Linked DNA regions of Homo sapiens: region 2 is linked to region 1. Evidence: promoter capture Hi-C in 16 types of primary human blood cells and fetal thymus (Javierre and others, 2016). All regions are on one chromosome and are shown on one strand. Each heading gives the region's core, a stretch centred on a gene start or on the middle of the fragment in contact. The rest is flanking DNA. Distances are from core to core; before and after follow the strand shown. Region 1 holds the start of COG5 (component of oligomeric golgi complex 5). Region 2 overlaps THAP5 (THAP domain containing 5).

Region 1 (6,797 bases), core at 2,549-5,048:
AATGTGAATGTAATTAACACTGCTGAACTGTATACTTAAAAATGATCGAGAGGTAAATTTTATGTTACGTATATTTTATAACAAACTTCTAAAAAAACTCAATAGTAAAAGAGCAAACAATCCAATTAGAAGATGAGCAAAAGATACGAAGAAATATTTCTTCGAAAACTGAACACACAACTACCTTAGGACCCATAATTGCACTCCTATTTGTCCCAAGACTTAAGTTCACATAAAAATCTATACATCAATACTTATATCTATTTAATATCCATTATATACTTATAGGTAGGAGTTACAACCACCACCATTTTTATAGATATAAAAAGTGCAGCTCAGAGAAGTTAATTGTTTACTCAGGATCACATATATACTAGGCAAGTAGTAGCATCATGACTCAATTCTAAGTCATGATTCCAAAGCTAAGAGTTTGAAGTTCCCATATGGTGGGTGGTCTTACAGTACTTTTAAAAAGTCAGAGCATAAAAGGGAAATTTCATCTTAGTTCATTAATCATTTTGCAACACTTACTTTGAATATCGAACCATTGGGGCACAGACTTTTACCAGCTGTCCAGAATGAAACATTTCTATGGGATCTTTTTTTCTTTCCTGACATATTGTCGTTTGCATGCAGTCACTCTTCATTAATACAGATATGTTTCAAATCTGAAAAAGACAATAAGCTTGTATAGAGAAAATATGTTTTCACTATATTAATTCCATTCTAACAATTTCAACTGCCAACAACATATATTTTTTATCAGGCTTGTGGGCTCAGAAATTTTTTTATTAATAGCTTATTTTCACAGTATCCAATATGATACTATAGAATGCTGCCTCTATTTGTAAGATAAATAGATGTGGAAAACTACCCAAGATAGTTGTGGAAACACAAGATGCAGAAAACGAGATTTTTTTTTTTTCCCTAGTTTACCATGTTGTAAGTTTTCATGTTATTTAAAAATTTTTTACATGTTACTTTGTTGGGATTGGTAAGCCAAGAAATTTGGTTTGAATTATTTTATATATGATACTCGACTGGCATTTGGAAATATCTTGTTTTATTCAGGAAAGTTAAATGGCATTAATAGAGCAACTCTTAAGTAGTCAGTGTTTCAAAAGATATGCTGGTGCTTTTATTGTAATTCTTGAATCCTGTTCTGTCTGTGAATCAGAAGATAAACAAACGTTAATTATTTTTAAAAATTTTAATGTGATATTATCTAGTGAAAATTTCAATTATAATTCTACAATTGCATTGTAAATCACTTTTATACCCCAAGAGGTACAGGTACGAGTGATGAAATTATGGAGTTTGTAAATGTTTTACATTTGCTATACTTAAAATCCTACTATTTCACAGTGTTGGCTACTTTTCATATTCCAGTCCTTGGCCTCAGTAACTTAGAAACAGGTATGTATGAAGGAAAAATGAAGCAGAAAATAACAACAACAAAAAAAAGAATCAGATATGGGCCAACTTTAGAATGGTCTAATTGCTCAAACTTTAGAGTCTTTAACCTTTAGGCAAGGAGTTGAAATTAAAAATAGCCAAGGTACTTAAGGATGTCAGGATCTTGCAAGAAACCGCTGGAAGCACCAATATTTAAGTAACAGAGGAAAAGGGGAGAGCAAAAGAGACTGAAGATGAACTTTGGAGCTGGGAGGAATAAACCTAAAGAGTGATACTCAGAAAACGAGAGAGACCATTATGAAGGAAGGAGGGGATAGGTATCTTAAACATCAAAGTAAGGCAAAAATAAAGCGCAATGGCAACAAGGTCATTAGTGATTTTAGCAAGAATTACTTCATTTTTATCCACTCCTGCAGTCATAGTAAATGGCATACAGAAGGCCTCAATATTTATTTGCTGAAAGAATAAATCAGTAGGTTTCAGGGGACTGGGCTCACACCTGTAAACTCAGCATTTTGGGAGGCCAAGGTGGGAGGCTTGCTTAAGGCCAGGAGTTTGAGACCAGCTTGGGCAATATAGTGAGACCCCCATCTCTAAAAAAATTATAAAAATCAGCTGGGCGTGGTAGCAAGCGACTGTGATCCCAACTACTCCAGAAGCTTGGGCAGGAGGATCCCTTGAGCCCAGGAGGTTGAGGCTGCAGTGAGCCACGATCCTGCCACTGCACTCCAGCCTGGGTAACAGAGCTAGACCCCAACTCAACAAAACAAAACAATCAGTAGCTTTCTACCTTAGTTGTACACTACAATGACCCGAGGAGCTTTTAAGAATTAGCATGCCCAAGCCATACCCTAGACCAATTAAATCCAAACGTCTGGGCTCAGGATGCAGGCATCAGTGTTTTTATTAAAGCTCTTCAGGTGATTTCAATGTGCAGCTAAGCTTGGAATTACTGGAATAAGTAAATCCAAAGATTCCAAAGCACCTGGTACAATTGTTTGTTTAAATGGGTTCCTACCTTACCTATTAACTCCTTTTAGAATATGGATTGAGTCTTATGTTTGTAAACTCATGAGAGCATGCAGAGTAGAGGGGTCAAAACTTTCGCTGTATGAATGAATATTACTCACTCTTCTAAAATCTTCCACTGGGGGGAATAAAGCCAAGGAAGGAAAAACAATTCCTAATTCACAAGTAATGAATGAATCACCCCTATTCCCATCATGACTAAGATCTTACATACTAGGGAAAATCCTCTGAGACAAAGAGAGCATAATGCAGTGTAGCATAAGACTTGCTTACCTGAGGTGTTATGAGTATGAAATGCATTGAGTTATAAAATACTTAGAACAGCGATAAGCACAGGATAAGTAATAGCACCTTTTTGAAACAGAATGTAGAAAACCACGTAGCTCTGGAACTGGATAAAATTGGTTTCCTGGATACATACCTACTGTACAAAATGAAAAAGTCATCTTCCAGCTTCTTTTTGCGAAGAAGCTTAAGACTGTCTTGCATACTTGTGGTTGCCTGACCCTGTTAATTTATCAGTATTTATCTTAGAAGAAAGAAATCTAGGTCAAAAACGCGAACGTATTAGTAAAGAAGATACAATGGGAACCAACCTGATGCTCTTACAGCGTCAATACTGTTAGTTGAGATGTGGACCATCTATCAGTTTGTAATTAAGAAAAAGTCTGGCACGTGACTGAAACTGAGGAAGAAGTAGAAAAGGCAAAAGGTCAAAGGTCTCATGGGAAGGAAGGAGGGTAGAGACAGTGAGTTTTATTGGTCCTTTTATGGTTCAGACTTCCTTCTTCATCGACTCTCCCTAATTCTCTTCACTGTTCATCCCCAGCAACTTTTCTTCCCAAGCATTTCCTGCGGGCTTTTATTACCCCAGGAGTGCCAATCAAGGCGTGGAACAGATAAAGCTGTGTAGCAACTAACGCGTGACTCTTGTGAGTGTGGAGGGCAAACGAAGCTCCCTGAAACCTCCGCTCTGCTCTCCTGCCTTACGCCGCGCGGCCCCTGTTCTGAGGTTTAATACTTGCTTCACAGATAAGCGCTGCGGCCACGTTCCGGTGCCCACCTTCTCCTTGGCTAGGGCACGACGCCAGCCCAGGGGGCGCGGCCCTGAGCTGCTGCGAGAGACAGCTGAAAGCGCCGGCCCGACGGCCTTGGCTCCCTCGGTGCGCTGGGCGCAGAGCACTCGGACCCTGGGCGCCCACTGCTCGAGTACCTGCGCGGCTCCTAGCCAGGCTTAGCCCAGGCGCGGGCTGAGAGTCAGTTCGCCAGGTGGGCCTGGAGCCATGGGCTGGGTGGGCGGGCGGCGCCGGGATTCTGCGTCACCACCTGGGCGGAGCCGTTCTGCTGCTGACGACATCAACCCGGCACCTGCCAACATGGAAGGTGGCGGCGGCAGCGTCGCTGTAGCTGGCCTCGGAGCTCGAGGCTCTGGAGCGGCTGCAGCTACAGTCCGGGAACTTCTGCAGGACGGTAAGGAGACGGGGTCTGACCAGGTCGTGGGGTTGGGGGTCTGCGCTGCTCCGCACCTGGACAGCGAGGTGGACCCAACCCGTTGCTTTGCAGAAAGTTTTCCAGTCTGGACGTGACCACTCCCCTCCGCCCGGCCCCCTGGCTTGGGTACTGTTCTAGCCAACCTATTTACTCTGGGACTGGCTCCCTCTTTTCTGGAGTCTTGGGGACACTTGGTTTCTGTGTGTTCCTCATTTCAACTCGACCCCCCCCCCCCCCATGCCTCCAGCTTCCCTGAAGTTTCGGGAGCCCAAACCCTGTGGACCGCGTTGGCAGCCACCGGCTGCTGCCGCAGTTCTTGACGAAGGGGTGTAGCGTTCGAGCTCTTCAAAAGTGTAAGCTCTAGAACAGACGGCAGACGCATAATGAAATAGGGCCTTGTTTTAAAGTAGAGCTGGAAACGCTTACTCCTTTAACAAATGGACTGTACAGGTGACCCCTCTTACAGGCTGGTTTTTTTTTTCCTCCTTTATGAGGCAGTTATCTACAGTGACACGTGGGGGAGGGTTTGAGACATTTGTTCAGGTTGGGATTAACCATTTGTACAGAATCTAGCAGTCAGATTTTATTGCTAGTCAGTTTGGAGAGAAGTTGCCCAAAATAAGAAAAGTTAGATATAATATACTTGAAAAGCATATTCAGTTGTGTCAATCCAGTTACCATGTCCCGAATCTCTTATCCTTCAGAATAAAGTTCACATTTATAAGCATAAAAATAAAGCCCTTCTCACCTGTTCTTAATTTTTTCTCTAGTGGCCATCGCATTCTACCTTGTACTAAAATCATTTGTATACTTGTTTTAATCTCTTCTGTATTGCAAACTTTTTTTAATATCCCACAGTGTGAATAGCAGTATCTTGCATACAGTAGGTGCAGAATGTTTTTTAAATTCATCATCGCAGTTAGAAGCACATGCACACATTTGAAGACCGAAGTGGGTAATAAATGAAATAAAGTTCCAAATTATTGTTTATTTTCTCTGACTGTTAAATATTTTATTGTCATCCTGAATTACGTGCCTTTTCATGATAATTTATGTACTTTTGTCAAAAGCAATGATGTTTTCTGAACTATTTCATGTTGGAAACTCTAGGACCGGGTCTCTGTCTAAAACTTGGCTAAACTGAATTTAAACTTTAGATACAAGGCAGAGACCCTGATATATTTGCAGTTGCTCCTGATACACGTGCAATTTTTGCCCTCAAGTAGTTCACCATCTAGTAGAGGAAATAATCTTGTAGACTATAAAGGTAGGTGCTGTAATATAGTGATGTAAGATAGCAGTAGGATTGCATATAAAGTAGAGCATTAATACAGAGGAGAATGATAACTGGGGGTTGGAAACTGGTTAGGAAATGTCAGAAAAGGCTTTCTAGGTGGAGACGTTTTAAACTGTAGACAGGACTTCCCCAGGTGAACAGTGGAACATTGGATATATGTTTCAGTAGGATGTATTTCAGGAATTGTAATCAGTTCTTGGACGGTAAATACTCTTCAGTTCTGCCTTCTGTATTTTCCTCCTTGGTTCTCTGCCATTCTCCACAGTGATTGTTTAAATCTTCTTTACCCTTTTCAAACCTTTCGCTTCAAGCTCAACAAATGACTTTAAGCTTCCCTGGGGAGAAAAAGAGGATCCATCAGATGTGAACTTTCTCCATTTCTTGCCCATCAAACCTATGAATTTAACCTCAACGTATAACCATCTGTTGCACCTTTTTTCCCTTGCCTTTTCAATTGCAACGGAAGTGGAGCCTCTGCTCCTTTCTTTCTTTCTTTCTTTTTTTTTTTTGAGACGGAGTCTCGCGCTGTTGCCCAGGCTGGAGTGCAGTGGCGCAGTCTCGGCTCACTGCAAGCTCTGCCTCCGGGGTTCACGCCATTCTCCTGGCTCAGCCTCCTGAGAAGCTGGGACTACAAGCGCCCATCACTATGCCTAGCTAATTTTTTGTATTTTTAGTAGAGACGGGGTTTCACCGTGTTAGCCAGGATGGTCTCGATCTCCTGACCTCGTGATCTGCCTGCCTTGGCCTCCCAGAGTGCTGGGATTACAGGCGTGAGCCACCACGCCCGGCCGAGTCTCTGCTCCGTTCTAAGGATAGTGCCTCCTACTTTGCTCTGGATTTTTTCTTCCTGTTTCCTGGGGACTCAGTCACCCTCAATCTATGCCATTGAAGTAACTTTGCAAGGTTTTCAATGACTTTCTTGCACATACGACAAATGGACACTTTTTTGGTCCTTTAACTTGTAATAACATTTGATTCCTTTCTTGAAATACTTTCCTCATGCGGTTTATGGGTGCCGTGCTTTTTAAAAATTCTTAATTCTCTAGGTGCTCTTTTCCAGGTTCCTGTAGATACTTGTCAGTTCAGTTTGTTCTGAATTAAGCGGTCTCTGTTGCCCCTCCACCCCCAACATTCCTGAGGAATTAAGCATTTCCAGCAGAAACTTTGATTCACTATATCGGGGATTTGGCCAATGACAGAGTATCGGATTGATAGGCTTGGTGAGCACAGATGCATAGTATGAAAATTGGTGAGGTGTTTCTGATATGCCCTCTATGGGAATGAGGAAACTATAAAAGAGAAGCATTATATAATTCATCTCTTTAAAGGCTGTCAGCCCTCAAATGCCACATCCCGTTGTGTTTGATCTTTGTAAGCTCTATGACAATACTAATACTTACTTTCTTTATCCCTTCTTTTGGCTTTTGCCATTCTTTTTTGTTTCTCTTTCTCCCTGAGCACTCTTTAGTCTCTTTGATTGCTTTCATTTTCTCTGTCCACCCCCCACTTTCCTATCTTCCTCATTTTCCTGCCTTTTTGTGCATTCTAAAACTTTTTTTTCCTA
Region 2 (7,224 bases), core at 510-3,009, 1.0 Mb before region 1:
AAATGATGCTACTACAAAACATAAGCTAAATGATTGGGATTGCGGGAAGGGAGTGTATAACAGCTACATTTTATATGAGAAACCTTATATTGTTACTATTTTTAAAAACAGGAAATTATGTGGTGTCTTGGACTCTGTTCTTGGAAAAGTACCAAATGGAATATAAACCATTTTCAAATATTGTTTTGTATACCTTGACCCAAACCTTTTTAGATTGATAGGAAAAATTTTCTATCAAATTCTGCCATACACTGTAATGTTAGCACCAACTTTAAATCCAGGTTATTGTCAGGTACAGGAACAAAATGTATACAGCGCTGTCTTGCCATTTGTATTTGATTTGTTTCATATAAAATATCTGAGACTGTCCCTTTTAACATGTTCCATTCTTTTCTTCTATCAGTTTCTCCTTCAGAACTTGAAATTTGGAGTTCCCAGTTCATTGGTTATAGAAGTGTAGTACTATTAGACTAGATTACTTATAGATAGAATTAAAGATGATGCTAGTAAAGAGAATATTTTCAGTACTTTTTCAGCTAAATCATTTGTTTGAAATAACATCTTATTTTTTAAATATTAAATAAGATTGTAAAGCTTAATACTGCCTTGAATTATAGACAACAAGCCATTTGACATGTGGTGGTATTATGAAATACATTTGAATAGGAATTTATAATTTATACAAACCTTTTTTCTAGTTCTAGGCAAACTGTACAGCAATATAAAAATGGAACATAATCCATAGAAAATACAAATAGATTTTGTCCTTTATAGGAACACATATATTTTACTTGAAGGGACTCTGAATTATGTTCAGCTCTTATCAGATAAGAGCCTTGGCTACATGTCTTACATCTTAGGCCTCTTACTGCAGAGATGATAATGGTACTAGTTGTCATGAAGATGCTCTTATTTGGTAGGGATGGTTGCCTTCCTCTTGTAGTACTTACTTGATGCATAGGTTACCCAGATATATAGGGTGGGAATTTGGCAAAATTGTAAAAATATAGCAAAGTTTTTCCTTTTTTCTTCTTTTTTTTTTAAATTCCAGATTTCCTCTACATGACAAAGAAAGACTGGAAAAGTGGTTAAAGAATATGAAGCGAGATTCATGGGTTCCCAGTAAATACCAGTTTCTATGTAGTGACCATTTTACTCCTGACTCTCTTGACATCAGATGGGGTATTCGATATTTAAAACAAACTGCAGTTCCAACAATATTTTCTTTGCCTGAAGACAATCAGGTATTGCAGTATGGGAGAGGGGTAATGCTGAGCAGAGTGGCAGATTTCAGGGTGGCAGGTGATCAGGTGGGAGAGTAAGAGGGAACTATAACTTGGGTAAACAGATACTTGGAAAAAAGGGAGCACTAATTTGTGCTTTTACTAAAAGTGATAATTAAAAAAAATTAAACTCATGAAGCACAGCTTAAGAGAAGCAAGAGATATACATTATTAAGTTATTAACACAAGTTCATGAGTTTTATTTTTTATACTTTTTTTGTTTGAGACAAGGTCTCATTCTGTCACCCTGGCTAGAGTGCAGTGGTGCGATCTCAGCTCACTGCAACCTCTGCCTCCTGGGTTCAAGCCATTCTCTTGCCTCAGCCTCCTGAGTAGCTGGGATTACAGGCGCCTGCCACCACGCCCGGCTAATTTTTGTATTTTTAGTAGGGATGGGGGTTTCACCATGTTAGCCAGGCTGGTCTTGAACTCCTGACCTCAGTTGATCTGCCTGCCTTGGCCTCCCAATATACTAGTCTTTTGAATGATCTGAAATGTTTCTGCCGTATATTGAATGGGATTAATGCTTTTTAGAAAATACTTTAAGGTATATATACTCTGAGCTTTTTTTTAACTAAATAAATTTGCTTGGCCAGTGTACTACTCAATATTATAATTAAATAGCACTAGCATAATAAGCCAATAAAAGTCATCTTTTTCAGAACATGAAAATATTATTTTCTAGGGAAAAGACCCTTCTAAAAAAAAATCCCAGAAGAAAAACTTGGAAGATGAGAAAGAAGTATGCCCAAAAGCCAAGTCAGAAGAATCATTTGTATTAAATGAGACAAAGAAAAATATAGTTAACACAGATGTGCCCCATCAACATCCAGAATTACTTCATTCATCTTCCTTGGTAAAGCCACCAGCTCCCAAAACAGGAAGTATACAAAATAACATGTTAACTCTTAATCTAGTTAAACAACATACTGGGAAACCAGAATCTACCTTGGAAACATCAGTTAACCAAGATACAGGTAGAGGTGGTTTTCACACATGTTTTGAGAATCTAAATTCTACAACTATTACTTTGACAACTTCAAATTCAGAAAGTATTCATCAATCTTTGGAAACTCAAGAAGTTCTTGAAGTAACTACCAGTCATCTTGCTAATCCAAACTTTACAAGTAATTCCATGGAAATAAAGTCAGCACAGGAAAATCCATTCTTATTCAGCACAATTAATCAAACAGTTGAAGAATTAAACACAAATAAAGAATCTGTTATTGCCATTTTTGTACCTGCTGAAAATTCTAAACCCTCAGTTAATTCTTTTATATCTGCACAAAAAGAAACCACGGAAATGGAAGACACAGACATTGAAGACTCCTTGTATAAGGATGTAGACTATGGGACAGAAGTTTTACAAATCGAACATTCTTACTGCAGACAAGATATAAATAAGGAACATCTTTGGCAGAAAGTCTCTAAGCTACATTCAAAGATAACTCTTCTAGAGTTAAAAGAGCAACAAACTCTAGGTAGATTGAAGTCTTTGGAAGCTCTTATAAGGCAGCTAAAGCAGGAAAACTGGCTATCTGAAGAAAACGTCAAGATTATAGAAAACCATTTTACAACATATGAAGTCACTATGATATAGAATAACTAGGTTTTAAAACTATGGCTGTTAAATAAGCTTTTTCCAGCCAAACCAAACTACATGTAAAGTGAACTGTTTCCTGTATAAAGTTCTCATCTTAATGAACCTATGAGAGTGTTGTAAAGTTATGAACTGTATCCTATTCTTGTAATACTTATTTAAGAAAAACCAGAGAGTTGGGCTGGAGAGAAAAGCAGTTTTATTACTTGATAATTTTCCAAATTAAAATTTAGCACATAGAAGGATTCAGTTATAACATGAGAAAACAAAGAAGTGTTCAAAGAGCACAGACTAGAAGTCAGGTTCAGGAATCAGTCCTGGTTCTACCACTGGCATATGACTTGGGCAAGTTACTTATGATTGTGCCTCAGTCCCTAATTTGTAAAATAAGCACTTACTGGATTTGTAATTGGTTATTTATAGTCCCTTCCCTTTTTATTAAGATAATTCTATTAGAACACATTTTCTGTAAGATAATATATACGTAATACTAGAAGTTGGCTAGAATTTGATGATATTAACCATGTATTATTTTCAGTATTTATTGAATTCTGTGGTCTTTGACCTTTTGGCTATAGTTACATATTACAGTTATATTATCTGTAATAGAAAGGAAGATAAACTTTTTTTTTTTTTTTTTTTTTTTTTTTTTTGAGATGGAGTCTCACTCTGTAACCCAGGCTGGAGTGCAGTGGCCTGATCTTGGCTCACTGCAGCCTCTGCCTCCCGGGTTCAAGTGATTCTTCTGCCTCAGCTTCCCGAGTAGCTGGGATTATAGGCACACACCACCACATCCAGCTTATTTTTGTATTTTTAGTAGAAACGGGGTTTCACCATGTTGGCCGGGCTGGCCTCGAACTCCTGACCCCAGGTGATCCACCTACCTTGGCCTCCCAAAGTGCTGGGATTACAGGCGTGAGCCACCGCGCCTGGCCAAGATAGAACTTTTATAATTTTATTCCAGTTGAACTAAACTAAGGAACCACCCATTAGCCCAGTTCTTAGGAGAGGTACTTCAAACTTGAAAGAATATGTATTTCGGTAACTTATATGTGGCTAACCATCAAATACATAGTCATCTAAGCTAAACTTTCTGTATTTATACAGTTAAACTTATAAACCAAAAATTTTAATGAGGTTAATTTTAAATATATTTTAGAAATTACAGTTTGTATCTGTTTCTTAGTAGGTGTGGCCTTTAAAATATGTGCTTATTCATTGTTAAATTCCAGAATAATAGAGTAATACTTAATACTGTACATTCCCACTTACGTATATTTTATTAAAATTTATAAGCAAGAAATTATACATAAGTGGTCATGATCTTAGGGAGACAAAGAATTTCTCTTAGAAAAGAGAAGTAATGGTAATGTAAATAAAAATACTGTTTATATTCACATGATTTTAAGAAAACTGTAAAAGCAAAGATTTTGTAGTAATGACACAAATGTAACAAATAGATGTTTTCTTAAAATTGGCAGTCAGTATAATTATGTTTCTGCCTATGATGTTGAGGAAGTTGTATCAGTCTGATTCTTAGTTTTTTCATCTGTTAAGTAGAACGTACTATTACTTACCTTAAAGAGTGGCTTTGAGAATTTTGTAAGGAACAAACATGTTTTTGGTTCTGGAATATAGGAGGTGCTCAATAAAAGTTGACTCTGACTGGCAAATAATATTGTTTTGTAAATGCATGATGATTATTTTTGGCCATATTTGACTTAGTTTCATTAGGCTAATATTAATTGGTACTATATGAAAGTGAGTCAACTAATTATAAAAGATTAGAAATGTCTTAGGTGACGATGGGGGAAAAACTTAAAATTTTTGCATAAATTATGGGGAGATGATAGAGTTATTACAGTGTTATTAAGTATTCCTATGTTGCATTTTGCAAATACTTAATTTAATACAGATGAAAATAATCTTGAGTCACAATAAAGTAATGATATGTTAAGTTTCAACAGTGTACATTGTAGTAATTTTCTGAAAGTTACAGGTTCCTCAGAAAAAATTTAAACTAGCTTTATTTCTTTAATAAATTATAAGTAAAAGTTGACTATCTGAAAATCCAAAATGCTCCAAAATCTGAAACTTTTTGAGCACAAACATGACACGCAAAGGAAATGCTCACTAGGGCATTTCAGTCTTCAGATTTTTGAATTGGGGATGCTCAGCTGTTAAGTGTACTGCAGATATTTCAAAATCTGAAAAACAGTACCCTTTCTGTATTCACGTCCATCCTTACTCTGACTTTCTGGACCATAATAATCATTCTCCGGTAAAACTTTGAACAACATTGCTCTGTTGCCTATTGTTCTCACTTGCCTAAATTACATTCCTGGTTGAATTCAAATATCTCTTTGCCTTTTCTCTTCCTACATCAGAAGAGCCGGTAGAATAGAAAAAAATCACGATTGGACAGACTTGATTATAAATTCATGACCACAAATCAGATGAGCCCAGCAGTGTTACTGTATTTTTCTAGTAAGTTCATAACCCCACACTCAAATTCTGTCTCTCACTCCTCCCTTCCTTTCCTGCCTCTCCTTCCCGCTTGCCCAAGATGAGGATCTCATCACATGCTTCATTTAGAAAATCAAAACAATCATTAGCTCATCCTGCCAGTTGCAGTGGCTCATGCCTGTTACCCCAGCACTTTGGGAGGACCAGGTAGACAGATTGCTTGAACTTTGGAGTTAAAGACTAGCCTAGCCAACATGGTGAAACCCTGTCTCTAGAAAAAAAAAAAAAAAAAAATCAGCCAGGCATGGTGGTGCGTGCCTGTATTCCCAGCTACTCAGGAGTCTGAGGTGGGAGGATTGCTTGAGCTCAGGAGGTAGAGCCTACAATGGGCTGAGATCGTGCCACTGCATTCCAGCCTGGGCATCAAAGTGAGACCGTGTCTTTAAAAAAAAAAAATGGTATGTTGTTTCCAAATTTAGAATGTGTTTCATTCTCATCACTACCATGGCACATGCCTAAGGTTTCAGTCAGTGACCAAAGCAACATTTTAATGCAAGAGAGGATTTGAGTTAGGGTTCTTTTGGTTGCAAGGAACAGAAACTCAATCCAGCTCAAGAAAGGAAACAGGGAAGAACAGAACTGAAAGGCTCAAACCAGGGTCTCGGGAATCCAAACACAGAAGTTGCGGTACAGGCAGGCACAGTGGCTCACACCTGTAATCTCAACGCTCTGGGGGCCCAAAGCAGGAGGATCACCTGAGGCCAAGAGTTTGAGACCAGCCTGGGCAACATAGATCCCATCTCTACAAAAAATTTAAAAATTAGCTCGGCATGGTAGTCGGTGCTTTTAGTCCTAGCTACTCAGGAGGCTGAAGTGGGAGGATCTCTTGAGCCTAGGTCAAGGCTGCAGTGAGCCATGACTGCGCCACTGCACGCCAGCCTGGGCAACAGAGTGAGACCCTGTCACAAAAGAAAAAAAGTTGCAGTACAGTTGTGCCCCATAGTAATTGGTTCTGGAAGACATCTGGAAAAGAGGCTCCCTCATGTCAACTGCCTCCTGAATGGCATCTGTTTCAAACTCTCTCTCCCAGCCAAACCTTATATCTCAGTTTACAAATAGGCCCCTAAGTTTCTCTACATTATGAATCTTCAGCTTCCTCTGTTAATTAGCTCAGTCATTCGGTTTTTAAATTCCAGATTTCCAAAAGAGGGATCCAACTGGACCTTGCATATATTTTTAAGCCAGTGGGTCTGTAGTAAACCTGTGAGTTGGCATCCTTTGGGTCCTGTCTTATAGGCTGCAGTTGCATCCAGTGAATATGATGGGGAAGGGTCACATGGTATAGAACAGACTCATCTACCTCAGTAAAGCCTTGAAAAGGAGCAGTTTCCCTTTGAAAAAGAGGCTGTGGGTGAGCAAGCAGGTAACTGCTTTAGTTCTGTGCTGCTGTAAAATATGAACTATATGAGAATGACATCATTTGTACATCATTCTCTCCTTTGCAAACAAGGTCCTTCATGCCTTGCCTTGAGCTTGTAACTAAAGAAGTGGCCTACTAAGCCATCAGAGAAAGTAAGAACCAGGCAGTACTGTACAAGACAACATGTAATCTTATAAGAGAGTAGGTTTAAAGCTAATATGAACTAATAAATAGTTTTAACATAATAAATTTAGAGCTATTCACATCCCCAAACAATTCTGAAATAACCTGAAGATATTAAGATCAAACTATAAATATTTAAAGTTTTAATAAAAGAAGCTCTAAAATAGTGATATGGTTTGGCTTTGTGTCCCCACCTAAATTTCATCTCAAATTGTAATCCCCAGGTGTTGAGGGAGGGACCTGGTGGGAGCTGATTGGATCATGGGGGCAGT

The links. The method cuts DNA at HindIII sites, captures the fragments that hold promoters and counts their contacts. A CHiCAGO score of 5 or more calls a contact.
Region 2: a contact is called between a fragment that was not itself captured here and the fragment with the promoter of COG5 in region 1, in 1 of 17 cell types (fetal thymus). The highest score is 6.6, in fetal thymus.

Annotation. Positions count from the first base shown.
Region 1 is chr7:107,560,921-107,567,717 of GRCh38, reverse strand. COG5 (component of oligomeric golgi complex 5) reads left to right here and starts at 3,798. Exons shown (of 22, transcript NM_006348.5): 1 at 3,798-3,915. The coding sequence starts at 3,822. It overlaps DUS4L-BCAP29 (DUS4L-BCAP29 readthrough), which reads right to left and starts at 3,747. Exons shown (of 13, transcript NR_163941.2): 1 at 3,509-3,747; 2 at 3,042-3,130; 3 at 532-668. DUS4L (dihydrouridine synthase 4 like) reads right to left here and starts at 3,747. Exons shown (of 8, transcript NM_181581.3): 1 at 3,509-3,747; 2 at 3,042-3,130; 3 at 532-668. The coding sequence starts at 647. RefSeq lists enhancers at 2,021-3,220, 3,751-3,870 and silencers at 3,571-3,670, 3,709-3,919. The HindIII fragment of the contact is 2,647 bases long and covers 2,919-5,565 here.
Region 2 is chr7:108,559,850-108,567,073 of GRCh38, reverse strand. THAP5 (THAP domain containing 5) reads left to right here. Exons shown (of 3, transcript NM_001130475.3): 2 at 1,052-1,244; 3 at 1,969-4,942. The coding sequence ends at 2,883. Among named protein-coding and RNA genes, the nearest start is that of THAP5, 6.2 kb to the left of the region's middle. The HindIII fragment of the contact is 2,325 bases long and covers 597-2,921 here.